Linked DNA regions of Homo sapiens: regions 1, 2 and 3 are each linked to region 4. The links are contacts of gene promoters, found by promoter capture Hi-C in blood cells and fetal thymus (Javierre and others, 2016). All regions are on one chromosome and are shown on one strand. The core of a region is centred on a gene start or on the middle of the fragment in contact, and the rest is flanking DNA. Distances in the headings are between cores, read along the strand shown.

The links. The method cuts DNA at HindIII sites, captures the fragments that hold promoters and counts their contacts. A CHiCAGO score of 5 or more calls a contact.
Region 1: the fragment with the promoter of FNDC10 here is called in contact with the fragment with the promoter of CALML6 in region 4 in 1 of 17 cell types (neutrophils); the score reaches 5.5 in neutrophils.
Region 2: a contact is called between a fragment that was not itself captured here and the fragment with the promoter of CALML6 in region 4, in 3 of 17 cell types (erythroblasts, fetal thymus and endothelial precursors). The highest score is 8.4, in erythroblasts.
Region 3: the fragment with the promoter of SSU72 here is called in contact with the fragment with the promoter of CALML6 in region 4 in 1 of 17 cell types (neutrophils); the score reaches 9.9 in neutrophils.

The regions. Positions count from the first base shown.
Region 1 is chr1:1,597,877-1,603,525 of GRCh38, reverse strand. FNDC10 (fibronectin type III domain containing 10) reads left to right here and starts at 3,391. Exons shown (of 1, transcript NM_001242659.2): 1 at 3,391-5,514. The coding sequence starts at 3,511. The coding sequence ends at 4,191. It overlaps LOC105378586 (a long non-coding RNA gene), which reads right to left and starts at 4,093. Exons shown (of 3, transcript NR_147951.1): 1 at 3,910-4,093; 2 at 2,820-2,869. RefSeq lists silencers at 1,759-1,901, 3,315-3,364, 3,665-3,784 and enhancers at 2,258-2,917, 2,918-3,577, 3,578-4,237, 4,238-4,896. The HindIII fragment of the contact is 12,096 bases long and covers 1-5,019 here.
Region 2 is chr1:2,195,145-2,200,733 of GRCh38, reverse strand. It overlaps a transcript of FAAP20 not described here. Among named protein-coding and RNA genes, the nearest start is that of FAAP20, 3.2 kb to the right of the region's middle. RefSeq lists enhancers at 1,109-1,706, 4,328-4,994. The HindIII fragment of the contact is 4,227 bases long and covers 1,349-5,575 here.
Region 3 is chr1:1,573,611-1,578,978 of GRCh38, reverse strand. It overlaps SSU72 (SSU72 homolog, RNA polymerase II CTD phosphatase), which reads left to right and starts at 4,116. Exons shown (of 5, transcript NM_014188.3): 1 at 4,116-4,501. The coding sequence starts at 4,422. SSU72-AS1 (SSU72 antisense RNA 1) reads right to left here and starts at 4,032. Exons shown (of 1, transcript NR_197593.1): 1 at 1,908-4,032. RefSeq lists enhancers at 1,383-1,925, 3,843-3,912, 3,923-4,032 and silencers at 2,324-2,493, 4,153-4,312, 4,553-4,632. The HindIII fragment of the contact is 11,232 bases long and covers 1-5,368 here.
Region 4 is chr1:1,911,623-1,916,918 of GRCh38, reverse strand. It overlaps CALML6 (calmodulin like 6), which reads right to left and starts at 1,659. Exons shown (of 6, transcript NM_138705.4): 1 at 1,612-1,659; 2 at 1,184-1,234; 3 at 304-478; 4 at 23-167. The coding sequence starts at 1,638. RefSeq lists an enhancer at 2,152-2,838. The HindIII fragment of the contact is 9,795 bases long and covers 1-5,296 here.

The DNA of each region.
Region 1 (5,649 bases), core at 2,142-4,641, 320 kb after region 4:
ACACTGGCACCCAGCTCCCAGGGTAAAGGGGCTGCGGGTCGTGAGGGCCATGAGAAGCGGGTGGCTGCTGCCCTGGAGCTCTCATTCTTACAGCTCCTAAGCATCGGAGCCATTCCCCAGGTCCCCAGGGACCCACATGCTCAAGTCCCAGCAGACCCCGTGCCAGCTGCAAGGTTCCCTCAAGGCCATGGCCAGCAGGACACCTCGTCTCTGGAAGCTCCCCCGCCCCCATGTCTCCACTAATGCTGGAGACTTCCATCGTTACTGGTCCAGCCTTCCCCTGCCAGGCAAAAGCATTTCCAACCTGTCCTGGAGCTGGGGCAGTTGGAGAGAAGAGGGGTTCCCAGAGGGCGGCCTGCCTAGAGGGCCGGCAGCTTCCCTGCTACAGTGAGGACTGAGCCCTGGCCAGGGCTGCCCACGAGCCCCCGTGGCCCAGTCACCTGTGTGGGGAGATCAGGAGTGGCTGGGTGGGACCTCTGAGGGGTCCCCTGGACAGACACCCCTCCGGGGGCAGAAGTAGGGTCTCAGAGGACAGGGGAAGCACTCATCAAGCAGGGACCCCGTGGGTGGGGCTCAAGCTGTGGCAGAGGATGGGCCAACCTGGGGAGCAGAGGGACAGCATTTCAGAGACCGTCTGATGCTTCCAAGCAAGACAAGAAGCTGAAAACGTCTGATAGTTATTTTTCTGACACTTTCTATTTATGGAAGTGATACTTACTATTCACGATCATGGTCTGCTTTTAGAAAGCACTCTAGGTGAAAAAGTGAACTCATTCAAAGAAAACATTTAGTGACTGTCAGAATGCTGGTGTGTGTACAAACAGCATTGGAGACGGCGCTCCAGGTGGGGAAGCGTGTGCGCGTGAAAGGCCACCGCTGCTCAAGTGCAGGTGCTAAGCAGAGGTCACTCCCTCCCTCTCCTCCTCACCCCTCCCTGTCCCCTTCCCTCCTTCCTTCCTTAGGGTTGGCCCCAGCTGGACTTCGCAATATCTGGGTCCCCATGGCTCAGCAGGAGGCCGCGGGAAACAATGTTTTCCTCTCGCAGGCTCGGTTTCTGCCACTCTGCTAGCAGCCCGAGGCTCCACTCTTTTCTCTGCTGGTCTCTCTTCCCTCACCACTGGCCTCTCACCAGGAGCTCAGTCCCAGAACTACGTCTGCAACCACAGTCCCTAGCTAGAGGCCCGATGCAAGGCAGGCAGGACCATCTTCATAGGGGTCTGCAGGGTCTGCAGCCACGACACGCCGGGACCCTGGGTTGCAATGGTCAGAAACCCTGTGTTTCGGTGTTGACAATGACTTTGCAGTCCAGGAGGTGGCTGGCTTCAGGTGAGGCTGGATCCAGATGCTGGAAGCAGCTGGGCCGGGCTGGCGTCCTACCTCTCCCAAGGCTGGCTTCATTCTCCCGTTCTTCCCACCACCCACCTTCAGGGCCACAGCAGCTGGAATCCAACACCTGTCAGGGGCAGTCGCCCCCTCACATGAGCTTCAGCAAAGGCCTCGAGGCTAAGGGGTCCAGTCTGGCTGGCCGCGCCCAGGTCATCTGCCAACTCCTAGGCAGGGGAGTGTCAGCCCCACCCAAGCTCCCCATGACCTGAGGATGGATAAAGGGGGCTGCCCAGAGGGAAATGCAGGTGCTGCTACAAGAAGCTGGAATGGTCATGGCACAGGGTGAAGGCCCCAGCTGTCCTCAGGCCAACATGCCAAGATAGTTGGGGGCCGCCCCACCCCATATACCATCATCCAGGCTCCTGCCCTGCCCCACTGCCCATGCCCTCACACCTGGGGGCTGAGGGGCTTCCACTGGGAACTGGTGGCAGTAGGTCGGCTGAACCCCTGGGGAGTTCTGGGCAAGGACATGGGGGTCCCCTGAGTCACCATCACTCTCTGCTTCCCTGGGGCAGCCCCTGAGTCGCCTCACAACGCTGGGGCAAGAGTCAGAGCCCAGGGTTTGCCCTTCCTAAGCAGAGGTGGGAGCTGGGGGCAGGGGGCAGGGAGCGCCTCTCCCAAGGTCTCTGCCCCCAACCTCTCTGCGCCAGGTGCAGAGGCCTCAGCAGACCCTGCCAGGGGCCCAACAGGCTGGTGTAGGGGGTCAGGGCCCTCCATGCCGGGGACGGAGGTGCACCGTGACCACAGTTGGTGGGGGCCTGACCGCTGGGCCGGGGCTCTGGCAGAGCCCCTGAGATCCTGTGGGGTCCTGACCACTGCACTGGGTTTTTCAAGATGACCAGGAATTCGTGAGGCTGGGTGGTGACTCCGTGGGGGGGCGGAGACATGGCCATCCAGAGGTCGGGGACCAAGGACACCGTGAGCAGAATAGCCAGTCTCTCCTCACTCTGCCCCCAGGCAAGGAGAGCACAGGAAGGGGTTGCAGGAACTCATGGTCCAGTTGCCAGAGAGCCCCCCACAACCCCTGCAGACCCAGAGCTGGCTCAGCGGAGGTGCCAGCCCAGCCTTAGGTGCGAGGCTTGGCCTCCTTTCCAGTTAGGGCAGGCCGGCCAGGCCCGGCCACGTCTGCATACACAGTCCCTGGCTGTAGTCCTGGCCCTGGAGGGGTGTCCTGGTTGCTGGGTGATCTATGCAGGGACGGGAATGAGGGGCAGGGGTCTTGGGGTGTGTCCCGCCTTCCCCTCCCCCGTCGGTGCCACCTACTCAGTGCACCGGGTGGGCTTTTTGGATTCCCTTTGTCCAGCCCTGACCTCCCCACAGCCATCGGGAGGGCCCCCCAGAGCGCATCTGGAGGAGGAGGGGGCGCAATGAGGCAGGGAAGGTCGGCGCCCTGCAGCTGCCTCCGCTGCGTGTGGAGCGAAGGGAGTTCTCACCTTGCGAAGTCTCATCTGTCAGGCTTTCCTCCGGGTGGGCGCTGTCCGTCCTGAAAGGAACAGAAGCCGCGGGGTGAAGGAAAGTCTCCGTGCTGGTCCCCACCCCATCGGTATGGGCAGGTACCCTGACTGCGCGGGTCCCCGCCGCGGGTCCAGGGCGGCCAGCGTTGGGGTGCAAGGCCCGGGGTCCTGCGCGTGCCAGACCGCTGCGCCCCCATCGTAAAGCACGAAGTCCCCGACTGGTGTGGCCACGGGCGGTCGCGGAGCTGCACGACGCGAAACGAAGCCGGCCACAGCCCGTGAGTTTCGGCTCGGAAAAGCCGCAGGGGTCCAAGGTGCGCTCACTAGGCGGGAAGCCGGGAGAGCGGCGGCCCTGCCCGCACCCCGCGCCCCTGCCCGCACCCCAGCCCCACCGGCACTCCGGCCGCCTCGCTGCGTCCCCCTCCTCCCCCCCACCCCCGATCCCCCGCACCCGTAGGCCGCGGCCCGGCGAGGGTTAAGGGGGGCGGGGCGAGGGGCGGCCCCGCCTCCGCCGCCGCGCCGGGTCCGAGCGCGCACGGGGCGCGGGGGCGGGTCGGAGCGGGCGGCGGCGGAGGGCGCGGCGCGCCGGGGATCGCGGGGAGCGGGCAGCGGGGACGGCGGCGGCGCGGCCCGCGTGACCCAGCGCCGCGCCCCGTGGCCCCGCCGCAGGATGCGCGCCCCGCCGCTGCTGCTGCTGCTGGCCGCCTGCGCGCCGCCGCCCTGCGCCGCGGCCGCCCCGACGCCGCCGGGCTGGGAGCCGACCCCCGACGCGCCCTGGTGCCCCTACAAGGTGCTGCCCGAGGGCCCCGAGGCGGGCGGCGGGCGCCTGTGCTTCCGCAGCCCCGCGCGCGGCTTCCGCTGCCAGGCTCCGGGCTGCGTGCTGCACGCCCCGGCCGGCCGCTCCCTGCGCGCCAGCGTCCTGCGCAACCGCAGCGTCCTCCTGCAGTGGCGCCTGGCCCCGGCCGCCGCGCGCCGCGTGCGCGCCTTCGCGCTCAACTGCTCGTGGCGCGGCGCCTACACGCGCTTCCCGTGCGAGCGCGTGCTCCTCGGGGCCTCCTGCCGCGACTACCTGCTGCCCGACGTGCACGACAGCGTCCTCTACCGCCTGTGCCTGCAGCCGCTGCCGCTGCGCGCTGGGCCCGCCGCCGCCGCGCCAGAGACCCCCGAGCCGGCCGAGTGCGTGGAGTTCACCGCCGAGCCGGCCGGCATGCAGGACATCGTGGTGGCCATGACGGCGGTGGGCGGCTCCATCTGCGTCATGCTGGTGGTCATCTGCCTGCTGGTGGCCTACATCACCGAGAACCTCATGCGCCCGGCCCTCGCGCGCCCCGGCCTGCGCAGACACCCCTGAAGCGCGAGGCCGCCCGCCCATCTTTGCGCCACCTGCCTGAGGGCGCCTGAGCTCCCAGGTCCTCCGCCCGCTCTCCTCTCCTCATTCCTGCTGCCTCCTTAAGATCCCCGCGGAGGAGGACCTGCCGGCGACGGCTCCGGCACTTTGGCATCATCACACGCCCTTTCCAGCCGGGCGTCAGACTCCCAGACTCTGGCCCCGGATTGGCCCCTGGGCTTGCGCTGCTGTGCCAGCCGCATCCAGGGCTCTCCCCGCTCTCCGCAGGCCTTTATAGAGGCGGCCAGGGCATGGAGCCCCTTCCAGCAAGAGCCATGGGCACTCCGGCTCACCCCGCACCTCCATCCTGTGCCGAATTGTCCCAGACAGACCGTCGCCATTGCTCGGTCACTGTGCTTTGCAGGCCTGGGGCGCAGCTCTCCAAGCCTGTCCTGCCCCGCCCCACCCCACTGGGCTTAGGTTAGCTTCGTGCCTTAGTATCTCGGGCCCACTGCAGGAGCCAACACCCTCTGCTGTCCAGGGGGGGTCTGTGGCCCTAAGATTGGCCGGCCTCTCCATGCATCTGGCCAGCGTCCCCTTGGAGACACCTTCACCCTCAAGCGCTGCAGAAGCATGAGGTGAGGGCCTGCAGCGCTCTGTACCGTTTAGGGTGTTGGACCAGCCGGGAGCCTGGCAGGCCTGGCCCAGCGGCCAGGGTGAGTGTTCTCAGACCCCGGGCAGCTGGTGGTTCTCCAGGGCCAGGTACCCCTTTTGTGTGTGCGACCTCTGACTAGGTCCCTGTGGGAATGGGGCAGATGGCGGCCATCACCACTGGGTCCCAGGGCAGAAGCTTAGATACCGGCCTTGAGCAGCCCGACCTTCCACCGCTGCCTGGATCCCAAGCCTCAGCCGACCCAGGGGACCTTGGTGGCAACGGTGTGACTGACAGCACCACCCCTAGCCTTTGCATGCCCAGGGGTCGAGAGCCAGTATCCGGCCCAGACAATGCCACCCGCCATGGAAGAAAAGCTGACCCTGCCCACCTGCTGCAGACCCGGGCCCCGGGCCGAGGTTGCTTTCTGTGACGACCGCCTGGTGACGCTGGACACCAGGAGGGTTATGGCACTGCCCTCCCCTCCTGGAGCCCCTGGCACTGACCACCTGGACTTGACCTGACTCCTGGTCACTGGCCAAACACCCATCCTCACCCCAGCCACCCCGGGCCCTGGCTGGTGCCGTGTGACACCTGTAGCCCACCTGTGTGTCTTTGCTCCGCCCACCCCTGCGTGGCGCCGGTCAGGCGCAAACCTGGCGCCAGTGTCTAAATGTCCATCATTCTCAGACCAACAGAGCTGTCTGTGTGTTATTTGGGAGGTGGGAGGGAAGGAAAAGGTGGATTCCCCTTCTCCCCACATCCCCTGGGACCCTTGGGTATGGGCTGGTGTCTGGCCCCAAACCCTCTCCTGGCCTGGGTGGCATTGG
Region 2 (5,589 bases), core at 2,213-4,712, 280 kb before region 4:
CCAGCTGGGCTCAGCGTTTTCAAGCTGAACTTGGTGCGTGGCGGCTTGGAAAGCCGGGAGCCTGCTGCGTGTCTCCTGGGGCTGCTGTGAAAAAATGACCACACACTGGGAGCCTAAAACGAGTGACATGTATATTCTCACAGTTCAGGCAGCTGGTGTCCAAAATCAGTGGTTGGGAGGGTGGAGCTCCGCCTAAAGGCTCTGGGTGGCTGCTGCCTGCCCCTTCCAGCCCCGGGCCCCCGGCATTCCCTGGCGTGCAGCTGCTCCACCCCCAACCCCAAAGCCTCCTTCCTGTGTCTCTGTGTCCAAATTTTCCTTACCTTTTTTTTTTTTTTTTTGAGATAGAGTTTTGCTCTTGTCGCCCAGGCTGGAGTGCAACAGCACGATCTCGGCCTATCGCAACCTCCGCCTCCTGGGTTCAAGCGATTCTCCTGCCTCAGCCTCCTAAGTAGCTGGGATTACAGGTGCCCACCACCACACCCAGCTAATTTTGTATCTTTAGTAGAGATGGGGTTTCACGATGTCTTTCAGGCTGGTCTCGAACTCCTGACCTCACATGATCCACCTGCCTCGGCCTCCCAAAGTGCTGAAATTACAGGCATGAGCCACAGCACCTGGCCAATTTTCCTTTTCTTTCTCTCTCTCTTTTTTTTTTGAGACGGAGTCTTGCTCTGTTGCCCAGGCTGGAGTAAAATGGCACAATCTTGGCTCACTGCAACCTCTGCCTTCTGGGTTCAAGCGATTCTCCTGCCTCAGCCTCCCGAGTAGCTGAGACTACAGGCGCCCACCACCACACCCAGCTAATTTTTGTGTTTTTTAGTAGAGACGGGGTTTCACTATGTTGGCCAGGCTGGTCTAGAACTCCTGACCTCAAGTGATCTGCCCGCCTCGGCCTCCCAAAGTGCTGGGATTGCAGGCGTGAGACACTGCACCCGGACAATTTTCCTTTTCTTACAAGAACACTGCTCACACTGCATTCAGGGCCAACCCTAACCCAGTATCGCCTCATCCTGGTTTGATTATATCGGCACAGACCTTGCTTCCGAGCGAGGCCACTTTCTCAGGTACTGGTGGACATGAGTCTTCGGAGACGCTGCTCAACCCACAGTGCTCCTCCAGCTTGGTTTCTGTGACTTGCCTTCCCCAGAGGAGGGGTGCCCTGAGAGGTCTCCACTCCCTGACCGGCTCCTTGGTGCCGCGCACTCTGAGAGGCTTCCCAGGGAACAGAGCACACAGGACCGCCCTCCTGGGTAGACCAATCAGCATCTGAGCTCACAATTTCCCAGCAGGGCAGTGGGGTGGAGAGAGAAGCCTGGGCTGGGCTGGGCTGGGCTGGGCTGGGGAAGCTTCTCCGGGCGGGGGGACGTCAGAGCAGGATCTGGGGCTGATAAAAGCCCGCCCCTGGGTGGGGGCTGAGTGGTGCGGAAGCTGAGCCCGACACGTGGGGATGGAGGACAGGCTGTGGGAGGGTGTGAACCGGATACTGCTTGAAGGGGTGCTGGGGACTTTGAGAGAGGGCGGCTGGCCCTGTCTGGTCGGGGATGCTGGCCCAGACACAGGCCATGGCTGGGATGGGGTTCAGAAACAGGACCGCTGTCTCTCCCGGGCCAGGGCCCTCCCCAGCTGCTCCTGGCTTTCTGGTTCTTGGGGTCAGGGGCAGGCCTGTGCCATGACCCCGCCACTGAGGCTGTGAGGAGGCTGTCGGTGCCCAAGGGCACCAAGGCACACCCCTACTCTTGCACCCCATGTGTGGGCCCGAGCACCTGCTCTGCTGCCCCAAAGATCTGGCGATGTTTCCCAGGCAACTGTCTCTCACAGCCTGTCTGCCTGGCACTCCCGTATCCCATAAATGCCACCACATCTGGCTATGGGTGGGCGTGCCTGCCTGGCATCCACGGGCCAGCAGGTGTGGTGGAGCACAGCCCAGTTCCTGGCTGCGTCAGAAGGCTGCCCGGGCCTTTTGGCTGTCCTTGCCAGCAGGTGAGCACTGCCAGGGCACCGTGTGTGGGTGCTGGGCCATTTAGCCACATGGGAAGGGGTGGAGGCAGCCCAGTGCCTTCAGCATGTGCCCAGGGTGCCTGTCGGCCACAGGTCTCATTTGGAAATTGGGAGGGTGCACGGCCACCGGGCTGCTTAGGCCTGCCAGCCTCAGGGCCCGTCACCGCTGTCTTAGCCTGATTTGCAGGGTGTCAGCGCTGGGCAGAGATGAACATTTGGGTGACTCTGAGGATGCCAGTGGCTGGGACACTTGTTCTTCCGCGGTGGAAGGAGTTGGAGAGGCCTGGCTCCCTGACCTACGGCCAGCCTGGCTTCTGAAACCAGCTCAGTGGGCTGGGGCCTGATTCATCATCCATAAATGTGTCCTTTTTTGCCACAGAGGGTAAGGGGCCTCCTAGCCCACCGGTCTGCAGGTGCGGGAGTAGGAGATGGGTGGCTCTGATGCCCCCACCCACTCGATCACCTTCTGCTCTGCCTGGGATGCAAACTCCCACAGCTGAAACGTTCTTTTGTAAACATGAATTTTGGCTTAGAAAAAACTCATTTCCACTGTGCACGTGTCAGTCCCAACCAGAAATTATTTTCCAATAAAGCAAAACTCCGTCACCACAGCAGCAGATGGCTCCGAAGAAGTGGAGCGTTTTCATCAGGTTCAACTTTGAAACCTCCACCATCACCATCACCAGCACCGCTGTGTCATGCTGATAACTTGAGGACAGGCAGGACAAGGTATGTTTGTTGGAGGTGAACATGCTTCCTTGTCTTGAGAGTCTTGAGTGGCCGGTCCCCTTCCAGGCCCTCGGCTGGCAGGCAGCTGTCGGGAAGCTGTCAGGCGGGAGGGGATTGGGGGTCAGGCTTCCTGACAAGTGGAGGCACCCGCCACGTGCCCAGAGCAGAGGTCACCCCAGTGCCTTTCTCTGTGGACTTATCTCTGGCTGTAGGTCACAGGGGCCTGCCCCACTGCCCCCTCCCCAGTGGTGACATGGGAGGAGGGGAGATTAATCCAGAGCAGCAGATAAACTGGAGGGGAAGAGCCCCCAGGAGGACAACTGTGACACGTTGTGCTGCCTCTGCGTCCCCAAAGCACCAGGCCCAGAGGCCCTGCCTTCTGCCCCATGGCACTGGCCTGGGGCCCTGGCTCCTCTTCCCTGGTGGCCAAGGGTAAATGAGGCCCACTGGGGTGGCTAAGACTCAAGGGGATGGGGGCCCCCCAGCTTCAGTGATGCGGGCTGGAGCCAGGCTCAGCCAGCCCTGAGGTCCCCTGCAGGCCCGTGCCTCCTACCCTTGGGGCACCCGCAGCGAGAGCTTCCCAAGCAGCCTGCGCCAGCCGGGCAGCGCAGGTGTCCCGGGTCTGGGTCACTTGAGACCCCGCCCTGCTTCTGCTCGGCTCTGCCCCTCTTGGGCCCAGTGGCCAGGGCACCTGCATGGGGGAGCCGGGAGGGGCTGGAAGGATGCTGAAGACCCCAGCAAAGCTCTAGTGTTTGGCTTTCCAGGGGTGGGGGCTGGGTCCTCCCGCCCAGAAAGGCCCCTGTTCTGGGGCAGCAGCCACACACAGGTGTCCCTCACATGGTCCTCCAGGACAGGGCAGGGGCCTGAGTTTCCCAGGCTCTGCCCAAGGGACCCAGGCAGGGAAGGAGATGGGTCCCAGGGGGCTCGGAGCCCATCCAGAGGCCGGCCGGTCCCATGGCAGGAGGGCACTGGACCATGTGGGGGCCATAGAGGAGGAGGAGGCAGGAGCCACCCCCGGGTCCAACAGCAGAACCCTGGGGTTGGGAGCCAGAGTGGGGAAGGGAGAGGAAGGAGCAAGAACACCCCCCACCACCCCCAGCACGGCACAGAGAGCTGAGCAAACACTTGTCACCAAGGGCTTTTCTCCTCTGTCTTTTTTTGTTTTTCGAGACAGAGTCTTGCTGTGATGCCCAAGCTGTTGTGCAGTGGTGCGATCTTGGCTCACCACAACCTATGCCTCCTAGGCTCAGGTGGTTTTCGTGCCTCAGCCACCCAAGTAGTTGGGATTAAAGGTGTGCACCACCATGCCCGGCTAATTTTTGTATTTTTAGTAGAGATGGGGTTTCTGCATGTTGGCCAGGCTGGTCTCAAACTCCTGGCCTCAAGTGATCCTCCCGACTTGGCCTCCCAAAGTGCTGGGATTGCAGGCTTGAGCCACCACACCTGGCCTATTTTTTTTTTTTTTTGAGTTGGGGTCTGGAGTGCAGTGGCACGATCTTGCCTCACTGCAGCCCCCACCTACCTGGGCTCAGGTGATCCTCCCACCTTAGCCACCCAAGTAGGTGGGACCACAGGCACATGCCACCATGCCCAGCTAATTTTTTATTTATAGAGACAAGGTCTTGCCATGTTGCCCAGGCTGGTCTCAAACTCCTGGGCTCAAGCAATCTGCCTGCCTGGACCTCCCCAAGTCCTAGAATTGCAGGCATGGGCTGCTGGGCCTGGCCTTTTCTCCTGTCTTGGGAGGCTGGGACCAGTCTTCCTGGAAGTACCCAAGGCCCTCCTGCAGACCATGGTGACATTTCCAGGAAAGACCCAGAAGCTCGGAGCTGAAGCCAGGGCAGCCAGGACTGTCGGGGAGCCCTGGACACTGGCTGTCTGAGAGCGCTTGGTCAGCTGGCACCTGCCATGTGGTGGACGTGGGGCTGCAGAGACCCCACGGCTGGGCTTCTCTCGCCTGAGAGCAGGCCCAGCCACAGGCTACCTCCCACAGGGCCCCCTGAGACCACACGGCCTGCAGCAGCTCCCCCAGGCCCCCTCCCCCTGCCCGGGCAGCACTCAGCGCTGCATCTCCATCTGCTCACTCAAGTCGAAGGGCCTGGGGGTTGGTGCCTCCATCTTGTTCTGCTGGGGGCCTCCAGCATCTAGAGCAGGAAGGTGTGCGGAAGAAAACCACTCATGCAGGGAGAGGGGGACCTCCCAGTCCAGGCCCTGCTGCTGACCCTTTCCCTGAACACCAACCTATGGCCTCCAGGCTGGGGCCCCTTGAAGGACGGTGGGCCACTCGGGTGGCCTGGGTTCAGGGCCGGGCTCCACAGCTGAGTTCTGGAGGGAGGGCACAGACGACTGGGGGCTGGGAGGGGCCAGGTGAGGGGTAGGAACAGCCAGGGAGCCCTGCAGGAGGGGTGCCCAGCATAGCCCCAAAGCTGCTGGGGCTGGGCAGGGCAGAAACTGCCAAGGAGTCCCAGAGCCCTGAGTGGCGTCTGGCGAGGGCCCCTGACCCTGATCTCTGTAGACCCCACTCCTTCCGTGAGGGTGGCAGCCACTCCAGGGCCCAGCAGGGCCAAGGGAGAGGCAAGTGGCCTGGGCCCATGGGGCACTGGGCACAGCCAAGTGTGGCACCAGGGTGCCTGGGCGGCTGCTGCCACCACGTGGCCGACTTTGAGGTCGCAGAGCCCGGGGTCCAGGCAGGAAAGCCCCTCAGCTGCCCCCAGGGCCCTGGCCCAGGCCCCTGAGGCCCAAGTGAGCCACCTGGACTTTGTCACTTCGCCTCTGGTTTCTTGGTTAAGGAGCTTGAGTTCCCCGCCTTTTGTAAAGAAACGGTGGTGGCGACGGCGGATTTCAAGCTTTATTTACTCCTGG
Region 3 (5,368 bases), core at 2,867-5,366, 340 kb after region 4:
TAATGCTGTCACAGGATCCTTAGGGTGTAACTTTCCCAGCCGGAAACCTCTGTGTCTGGGGCGCCTTTGCCTGAGTTTTGCTCGGGCCCACTGGGCCCATTCCACCCACTCAGCCTGATAGGCTGCACTCAGCTGATGCTACTGGCTCAGATCCCACACCTTCCAGGTGAGGAGCGGCAGGGGTGTGTGTGAACAAGCGCGGGGTCCAGTCACTGTGCACAGCCAGGTGTGCCAGCTGCAGTGGGGCAGGCAGCTCCAGGGACTGGCACAGGTGCCAGCTCTGTGCAAGTCTGTAGCTGGACCAGGTGCACCAGAAGTGGCTTCCACTGCAGGCACTGGGGAACATGGTGGCTCCCAGAATCTTGGAGATACAAGGAGCTGCAGAGTCCCCAAGAGGGTGTCATGGCCCCAGCTCAGGGAGTCCCCGAGAGGGTGTCACGGCCCCGGCTCAGGGAGTCCCCAAAGAGGGTGTCACGGCCCCGGCTCAGGGAGCCCCCAAAAAGGGTGTCAGAGCCCTGGCTCAGGGAGTCTCCAAAGAGGGTGTCATGGCCCTGGCTCAGGGAGTCCCCGAGTCTGGGCTCCCCGAAGGGCCACAGCTCTCTTCTCTCCTTGTTGCCCCCAATGTGGCAAGCAGGAGACGTGTTTCAGCCCTGTTTGTATTACAGCTCTTTCAGTCCTGCTATTCAGCAGGTCCCATGTTCTCATCCTGCGTCCAGGAAGAATGAGGTACGTGGACAACCAGAGGGTGAGCAAGAAAGAGAGGAGCTTCACTGAGCGACAGAACAGCTCTCAGGGGACCCGAAGTGAGTAGCTCCTTCCGCAGGCAGGTCGTCCCGAGTGCCTAGTTCTCAGCGGAGAGGAGACCCGGAGTAAGTAGCTCCTTCCCACAGGCAGGTGATCCCCACAAATTGAGGGGATCCCAAGTGGGTAGATCCTTCCCACAGCTGGTAGTCCTGACATCTCTGTGAGTATAGCTGAGTGGGATTTTTATGGGCTTCAGAAGGGAGAAAGTGTATACTGATTGGCCCATGGGCAGCCATGGACGGGCCCAGAAAAAGCACCATAAATCTCATTCTGGACGGCAGACTCCACCCAGAACTGGCAGCCCAGCCCCCATGTTTCAGGAAGTCCCTAGCTTTAATGGGGGTCTTCACTGGACACCCACCCCTTTCCACCCAGGAGCCTGTGTGCCTCCTACTGCCATCAATCATGTCATCTACAGGACCCAGGCTGTTCAGGTCAAGGGTCGCCTACAGGACTGGGCTGAGCCGCCCTCAGCCCCTCCTTGGCCTTGCTCCCATGCTTGTGAGCACTCAAAGTCCAGAGCGGGCCGAGGCAGCAAGGGGCTGGCATGCTAGCACTGCCCTCAGTGTGTGCACACCTGGCTGGGTTGCAACAGCGCCTGGGCTTGGCTTCAGCTTTGTCGGGAGTCAGGAGAGGCCAGGTAGCAGCTGGAGGCACTTCTGAGCTTTCGGGGGCAGGTGGGGTGGCTTCCCAGCCCTGGGATTGCAGGGATACCTGGGTCCACAGCCGTGGCTGGGCAGATGCAGCTGCTCCCAGGAGGGTGGGGCTCCTGTCCTGCCAACTTGGAAGGGGGCAGGGCTCCCACATGCTCAGTGGAGCACAGAGTCCCAGCTGAGCCTCCCCTGCTGTAGCCAGCATCTTCCCAGCAGCCACTCAAGAGAGGCTGCCACTGCCATCAATGGTATAACTGACATTTCACAATCAATAGCTTCTGCTGGTAACTTCACAAAAACCTGACCTAAGAGATCTTTAGTACCTATTGGTTAAATAAGGTATTAAATAAGTATGTCAATACTATATGCTGTATGTGGGTAAATTCCTCTGGAACACTGAGATCCATTTACACACAGAAAGAAAACAGGCACATGGTTACAAGTCTCGTGTAATTTCTATGGCCATTTTATTTATTCAATTGGCTTCCTTTAATCTCTATTTTTCTATTTTTGTTTTCTAATTTTTTTCTTTTTAATTGCTTTCCTTTAAGCCTAGGTTCATGGGTCAAAACCAATATGCAAACTGGGATAGTCATATTATTATTGATTTTACCTTGTATTTTCCCCTTTTAAACTTATTCATTGCCATATTTTGCAAAAGGACAATTTCTTTTTTTTTATTTTTTTGAGATGGAATCTCACTCTGTTGCCAGGGTGAACTGCATAGGCACAATCTCAGCTCATAGCAACCTCCGCCTCCTGGGTTTAGGTGATTCTCCTGCCTCAGCCTCCTGAGTAGCTGGGACTACAAGTGCGCACCACTACATCCGGCTAACTTTTGTATTTGTAGTGGAGACAGGGTTTCACCATGTCGGCCAGGATGGTCTCGATCTCTTGACCTCGTGTTCCACCCGCCTCGGCCTCCCAAAGTGCTGGGATTACGGACGTGAGCCACCGCGCCCGGCTACAAGTACAATTTCTAACAGAATAATGCTGACACAGCACTTTGAGATGATAGAAAGACTACAGAAGTGACAAAAGTTGAAGTTAATAATGGACTCCAGGTTAGACTTAGCCTGAGAGCCACACCCTTCAAACCTCCTTTGATGCTCAAATATGGTAAAAAAGGGTTTTGACAATGACTCCCAGCAGCCACTCTCTCCAGTGTGGGACCAGACCAGCTATCTGGGACAAGTTCATCCCAGCACGGGGACTATCAAAACCTAATTACAGGATGACTCATTAGTGATGCATTTGGAGAAAGATCTCAATCAAAAGGGGAAAATACCCAAGTTGTCAAATAAAAGTGGACTCACTTATGTTTAAAAAATACCTTGACAAAGACAGCTGGGAAAGGCCATGGAGAATTCTCATGAATCAATAATAAGAAAAACTATCACAAGATTCTGCAAAAACCACAACCTTGCACTAAGGCAATCTTACACAAAAAATACTTCAGCAAGGACAGCTGCCCAGCAACTGCCTGTCCAACCCTGGAACGGGAGTACACTTGTTTTTTTTTTTTTTTAGACGGAGTCTGGCTCTGTCGCCCAGGCTGGAGGGCAGTGGCGCGATCTCGGCTCACTACAAGCTCCGCCTCCCGGGTTCACGCCATTCTCCTGCCTCAGCCTCCCGAGTAGCTGGGACTACAGGCGCCCGCCACCACGCCCGGCTAATTTTTTGTATTTTTAGTAGAGACGGGGTTTCACCGGGTTAGGCAGGACGGTCTGGATCTCCCGACCTCGTGATCCGCCCGCCTCGGCCTCCCAAAGTGCTGGGATTACAGGCGTGAGCCACCGCGCCCGGCCGGGAGTACACTTGTTACTGTTCTTTGTAGCCAAGGTTAATTATTTCCAAACCATTATCTTCCTCTTCATTTTTTCTTTAAAAACCATTACTTTCCTGAATGCGCAAATCGTTTACTATGGCACGCATATTCGCCAACGCCCTATTCCCAAATAAATATCATTTTCAGTTAGCCTGTTATTAGGTTGACAATCATTATCACTCCCTCTCCCGTCCGTGGCGCTCCCACGGCAAAACATCAGCCCACTGTCCACCGCGAGGCTGCATCCAGGCAGACAGGCATAGCTGGGGAATGACACACTCGCGTTGACTGGATTTACTGTAACTGGACCCAAATCTCAGACCAGCCGGCGGCCTCTCCAAGGAAGCCCGAGGCGAGGAAGATCCTAGTCGACGTGCACTCCCAACCAGGTCTGTCACAGGTCGGCCCTCGCATTTAAACGTTAAATGTTGAAGGGCTTTCATAAAAGAGCGATGTGCTCCTGCTTGTATGAGCCGGGGCCGGAGGCCGGTAACAGCGGCACGGGACGGGAGCGAGCCTCAGAATGCGGGAATGTCTGTGGGCCTCCGGGACAGTGGAGGGAGCGGGTCTAGTGAAGCGCGACGACTCTGGGGTGGCAGAAGTGAGGACTATGGGCCCCACGGGGACCGAGGGAACGCACAAAATCGTCCCAAGAGACGAAACGCCGGGCCGCGGAAGGGCCCTCAATGCTATCTCCGGCAAGCGCGGCGTTTCGCATCGCTCCCAAAGGCGGCGGCGACACCTTATGACGTCCTGTTGTTCCGCACGTCGTCGCGTCACACTAGGCGCCGGCGCGGGGTGCTGATGTCAGGACGCCGCCGCTTGGCGCCGTGACGCTCAGCCGGGCCTTGTGGAGTGCGGGTCTCTGCTGCGGACGCCGGGGGCCGGCGCGGCGTTGGCCGCCCCCGGCCTCGCCGAGTGCAGCGCGCCCGAAGGCCAGTGCCTGCGCTCCGTCCGCGGCCCGGCGCCCAGGGTGGGCGGGGAGGCCGCCGCGCAGTCGCCGCACGCTACACCGCCGGCGCCGTCGTTTCGCGTCGCCCGCTTCCGGCCACCGCGGCCGCCATTTTGTTCGCGCGGAAGCGCCGCGGTAGGGTGGGAACCCAAGCGGGAGAGCCGCGGGATTTGCGGCCGCCGCCATGCCGTCGTCCCCGCTGCGGGTGGCGGTGGTGTGCTCGAGCAACCAGAACCGGAGCATGGAGGCGCACAACATCCTCAGGTAGTTGGGCTCCACCCTGTCCCCGCGCGCTCTGCTCCGGCGACCGGCCCTCCCTCCTCCCCGGTTCCCCCTGGCCCGCGCCAGGACCCCTGAGAGGAAGCCGGGCCGGGCCGCGCTCGTGGGTCGGCTGGTTGGGATGGCAGCTGGACGGCAGCGCGCGTAGTCCACACGCGGGTGGGCATCACAGGGAAGGCAGGTTCCGGGACGAGGCGCCCGCTGTCCGGTGGTCCTTCGAGCTCTCCGAGGCCGGGCCCGGGGGGCGAGGGTAGCGTCCGCGGCGAGGGGCTGCGCGGCGGCGGCCGATCATGGTATTTCGTGTGCGTCGTTGGCCACCTTCCCTGGAAACGGCGCGCAACACAATCACGGCATACCACGATGTTGTAAATAACAAAGCGGTCTCTTTTTTTAATGCCATGGATTTGTGTGTTTGCTACTTCTTCTTCTTTTTTTTTTTTTGCGAAAGATCCTCTCTTCCTCCCTGGAACGCCTCCAACCGGTAGTTTCTGGAATACAACGTGGACTTGGTTTGGCTCTGCTAGTTTATATTCCCTGCTAACTGGCCGCCTGTGACTCTTGCGTAGCGTATGTCTAATGAAAGTTTATTCCTGCTTGATAACAAGTTTTTTGTTCAGTCACATAGCAAACTGAGAAACTGACCACTTGACTTACAGTTAAAATTTGGTATGTGTCAACTTTGATAGTAAGAAAGTTGAAATGGCTTTTTTACCTCCAAAGTTACCTACGTGAACTTTAAATGAAAACAGTGTTTCGCTTCTCTTCTCGCAGTCCAGCTATAACTTTCCTGAGCAACTTGGGAAAATTAACAGTCCCCCTTTTTTTTCCGTTTTTAACAGTGTCACGTGGGCC
Region 4 (5,296 bases), core at 410-2,909:
CCGCCCCCAACCCGGGCCCTACTTGAGTGTGTTCCAGTCAATGTAGCCCTTGCCCTCTTTGTCAAAGACACGGAATGCCGCCCTCAGCTCGCTCTCCTGGTTCTGGGCCTTCTCATGGTAAACTCCCATTAGTGCCAGGAAACCATCGCAGTTGAAGAACCCTTTGTCTGCAAGGGGCACAGCTGGGGCTCAAGGGATGGGGCACAGCACTCCCCATGGGCTTTGCCTCTTCCCCCCGTAGGCACTGACACCTGACCCAGGGCCCCCCCGAGGCTGCCCACCCCACTCCAGCCATGAGCTCACTGTCTCTGTCCACATCCTTGGCCATTGAGGCCAGCTCACTCTTGGTGGGGTTGATACCCAGCAGGCTCATGAGCCACTCCAGCTCCCCCGTCTTCACCTCCCCGTTGCCCTCTTCGTCGAACATCTCAAAGACTCCCTTGTACTCCTTGATCTGCTCAGCCGACAGGCGCTCTGTCTGCAGGGGACACCCGCACCGGCCTGACCAGGAGCCCCTTCTGCCCCTGTGTCCAGGGAAGGGTCAGAGGTACCCCCTGCACCCATTCCTCCATTGGCAGCCTTTCAAGGTGAGTGGTAAGAGAGGAGGCCCCCAGCGGAGAGCAGGCTTCCAGGACAAGGGGTCACACGCCAGGGGTTTGCAGGGCCAGCAGGGCTCTGCCAGGCAGCTAACAGGGGCAAGGGCCAGACAGGCAGGAGCCAGCGTGCGAGGGAACAGCAGCAGCTGCAGGGCCAGGCGGGCCAGGCAGCGGCCCTGGAGCCTGGCAATGGACACCAGGTGAGGCAGGTGAAGGAAGCCGAGAGCAGGGTGGGGAGGAGCCCAGCCCTGGCCCGGGAAAGGCTTCCAGCCCAGGATTGGGATACAGCCCAGGAAGCAGAACCCTGGGCTCCAGCCTGTGTGGCATTCCGGAGGGAGAGTCCAGCACCGGGCCACACCTGCCTGCCACCACTGCTGCTGCCCATCTGGGAGCCAGCTTTCAGAAAGGGCTGCTCCACCCTGGCCCCGGAACAAGGGCTGTGTTGGTGGCAGCAGGGCTTGGCCCCCTCTTCTACCTCAGCCCCTTCCTGCCCAGGCTCCGTGGCAGGTCATTGCACCTCCAGGTTCCAGCTCAACCTACCCAGCCAGCCCACCAGAGACTCCATCGGGCACAGAGAGCAGCCTTACCATGTCGGTGGTTGTCTGACAGGATTCTGCAGGGTGGTGACACCAGGGCTGCTGTGGGCAGAGTGCTGGGGCAGTGGTGGCAGCTGAGTTTTAGCTGGGCCTGGCTGCCTGGGGTCCCCGGGGTCCAGATTCCAAGAGCCTTTTATGGGTGGGAAATCCTGCCGGCCCTATTTTGGGACAGGCTCTCGGCCTTATCCACAGGGCCCCTTCCCGGCCCGCTTTGGCCTGGGCTTCCCCTGACCCTGAAGATGGGCACCGAAGGCTAAGTGCGGGGGCCAGGAAAGGGCTGAGACATGGCGGGACCCTCACACACGCTGTTCCCCGTGCTGTTCCCTCTTCACTGGACCAAGCTCCAAGTCTACCTTCCCAGAGGTGCGGCCCTCCAGCAGGTCTTCATGGGACCCTGGTCCCATGCTGTCATCACTTACCAGTGAGATTTCTTGTTGAAGACCCATCCTGGCCAGCTGGTGCTCAGTGGCTCAGAGCCTGGCCACCCTCCCATCCTGGTGGACTCAACATTGGCCCCGTGCCAGCATGTCACAAACTCTCAGGACAGGTCGAATGAACAAATGCATGAGGCACCGCTTGACCATCTTGTACAGGAGGGGCTGAGGGTCCACCATTCAGGGAGGAGACAGCAGGACATGGGCTGGGGGTGAAGGGGGAAAGGGAGCAAAACAGGGCCTGGGGGCTGGGCTGCCCGCTGGAAGCCAGGCACAGTTGGGGGCTATTTTGGGGTTTCTCAGGGAAACCTGATCTCCCTTCCACTCAGAACAGCAAAGCTGGCTCCCGAGGGGGCCTGGTGCCCAGGCTGGTCCGTATCAACATGCCACCGTGGAGCACACGCCTGCACACGTGTGTTCCCTCCTCAGACCCGCACTGAGCCCTCCCTGTCTGGGTCTAATTACCCACCAGACTCCCAAAGCCAGGGTCCAGCTCCTCCCTGCCCCACCCAGGCAAGAGTGTGAGGATTGCAGTGGCAGGTCAGGGCCCTCAGGGTCACACTCACACCTGCCCCCCGACTGGCCCCTTGATGGCATGAAGAGTCTGAGCAGGTGGGGCACTCAGTGTCCCCCGCCAGCCCAACCCTCTGCCTGCCAGCAAACCTGCAGCTACAGGATGGCTCCCGCTGAAACCCAGGCCAGCTGCTGAGACTGCAAGATTGACGCTGACGAGGGCAGGCCAATGGCCCAGGGCACCTCCAGCCAAACGGGAGCCGGGGCTGGAGGGAAGCGGCCCTGGGTCTGGTGGGGCCAAGGGAGGCCCTGACCTTCATCCTGGCTGCTCCCTGGCCTCAGCTTTCCCCTGGGCTGGGGCAGGGAACAATTCACGCACTGAGCACCTTCCCCCAGGGGCATAGAATGGAGGGAGCCGCAGCACCCAGGCCAGGGCCCATCCTGGGTTCTGGCTCAGGGTCTCCAGGTACAGGCCAGCTGGGTACAGAGACACAGAGAACTGCACTGGCCTCGTGGCCCTGGACAAGTCCCCACCCCAACAACTCTCACAGCCAGTGGACAGCAGGCTCTGCCTCCTCCGTTCCCAGGCTTCCAGCGTCTGACATTCCTGGGCCACAGCCCTGAAGGTTCCAGACATCCTGATGGGCTTACGAGTGAAACTCAAAGCTGTGACCCCTGGAGCCCAACTTAAAGCAGAGGGCACACCCCCCGCCCCGCCCGTAGGAAGGGGCAACATGGCCACAACCACCATCAACCTCTCTCCTCTCCATCTAGGCTTCTACCCATATCCAAGACCCAGTACAAGCAGCAGAACAGGTCCTCGCCCTCTAACCCTCTCTCCTCATGCTGACCAGCCTCTGTGTGGCCTTCGGACATACCCCGTATCTCTAGGACCTGAGACTCATCCAATCTTTATTTTCCTTCTTGTGTCTCTTCTGATCACCGAAGGGCTATTCTCCATAAGAAAACAGAAAAAGAGGCTGGGCACGGTGGCTCACGCCTGTAATCCCAGCACTTTGGGAGGCTGAGGCGGGCAGATCACGAGGTCAGGAGATCGAGACCATCCTGGCTAACACAGTGAAACCCCGACTGTACTAAAAAAAATACAAAAAAATTAGCCAGGCGTGGTGGTAGACACCTGTAGTCCCAGCTTCTCCGGAGGCTGAGGCAGGAGAATGGCGTGAACCCAGGAGGCAGACCTTGCAGTGAGGCGAGATCGCGCCACTGCACTCCAGCCTGGGCAACAGAGCGAGACTCCATCTCAAAAAAAAAAAAGAAAAGAAAAGAAAACAGAAAAAGAGAAAAACCCTGTAACAATTAGAATGCTGCCTCAGCCACGTTCAGGTGCAAGTGCAGTTGTGTTCATGGCCGTACCCAGTTATGCAGCAGATCTCTAGAACCTTTCACCTTGCAAAACGGACCCCCGCCCCCATTAAACAGCATCTGCCCTCTTCCACCACCCCCCGCCCCCCAGCCTATGGCAATCACTATTCTACTTTCTGTTTTTAAGAATTCGACTCCGGGGGCCGGGTGTGGTGGCTCACGCCTGTAATCCCAGCACTTTGGGAGGCCGAGGTGGGTGGATCACAAGGTCAGGAGTTCAAGACCAGCCTGGCCAAGATGGTTACACCCTGTTTCTACTAAAAAAAATAAAAAAATAAAAAAATTAGCCGGGCGTGGTGGCAGGTGCCTGTAATCCCAGCTACTCAGGAGGCTGAGGCAGAGAATTGCTTGAACCTGGGAGGTGGAGGATGCAGTGAGCCGAGATTGCGCCACTGCACCCCAGCCCGGGTGACAGAGTGAGACTCCATCTCCAAAAAAAAAAAAAAGAATTCGACTTTTTTTTTTTTTTTTTTTTTGAGGCAGAGTCCCGCTCTATCTCCAGGCTGGAGTGCAGTGGCGCGATCTCAGCTCACTGCAACCTCTGCCTCCCAGGTCAAGCAATTCTCTTGCCTCAGCCTCCCGAGTAGCTGGGACTACAGGCACCCACCACCAAGTCCGGCTAATTTTTTATACTTTTACTAGAGACGGGGTTTCACCGTGTTAGCCAGGATCGTCTCGATCTCCTTACCTTGTGATCCGCCCACCTGGGCCTCACAAAGTGCTGAGATTACAGGCATGAGCCACCGCACTCGGCCTGGAATAGGCGTCTTTTTTAAGGCTGAGTAAAATGTTATTCTCGGGATGGACCACACTCGGTTTATCCACCATCTGCTGATGAACACTTAGGTGCTCCCACCTCTTGGCTGTTGGAACTGCTGCTGCAATGAATATGGGCGGGCATGAAGGTGTTTCATAGATGTGATTAGTATTTAAATCAGTAGGCCGGGCATGGTGGCTCATGCCTGTAATCCCAGCACTTTGGGGGACCGAGGCAGGGAGATCACAAGGTCAGGAGATCGAGACCATCCTGGCTAACATGGTGAAATGCCGTCTCTACTAAAAATAAAAATAAAAAAATTAGCTGGGCATGGTGGTGCGCGCCTGTAGTCCCAGCTACTTGGGAGACTGAGGCAGGAGAATGGCGTGAACCCCAAGGAGGCAGAGCTTGCAGTGAGCCGAGATCGTGCCACTGCACTCCAGCCTGAGAGACAGAGCGAGACTCCACCTCAAAAAAAAAAAGAAAAAGTATTTAAATCAGTAGACTTTGGGTAAAGCACATGACCCTCCATAATGTAGGGGGGGGCCGCATCCAGTTAGTTGAGGACCTTAAGAGAAAAGACTGAGGTCCCCCAAGGAAGAAGGAATTCTGCCTCCAGACGGCTGCAACATCAGCTCTTCCCTGGAGGTTGCCTACAGTGCAATCACACGGGCCAATTCCTCAAAATCTCTCTCGTCTGTGTATATGACAGACGTATATATACAGACATACACACATATACACATCCCCCTGCTTCTACCACAGAGGGTCACCGCAGACATCACCACTGCCACTGAGGGTCTCCAGTGAGAAGACACTGAGAGACCCCGCCCCACTCCAGGGCAGCAGCCTCAGCTGCAAACCCACCCCACCTGAGCCACATGACACAAGGTGGTCATTGTGTCCACAGGCAGGACTCTGATGGTCCCTGCAGGTGGTCTAGGACCCCTTCTGTCTGGTTCTGCTTCCCCCTTCCTGTCACAGGGGCTGACCCCTAACAGGGAGCTCCTATCCCAA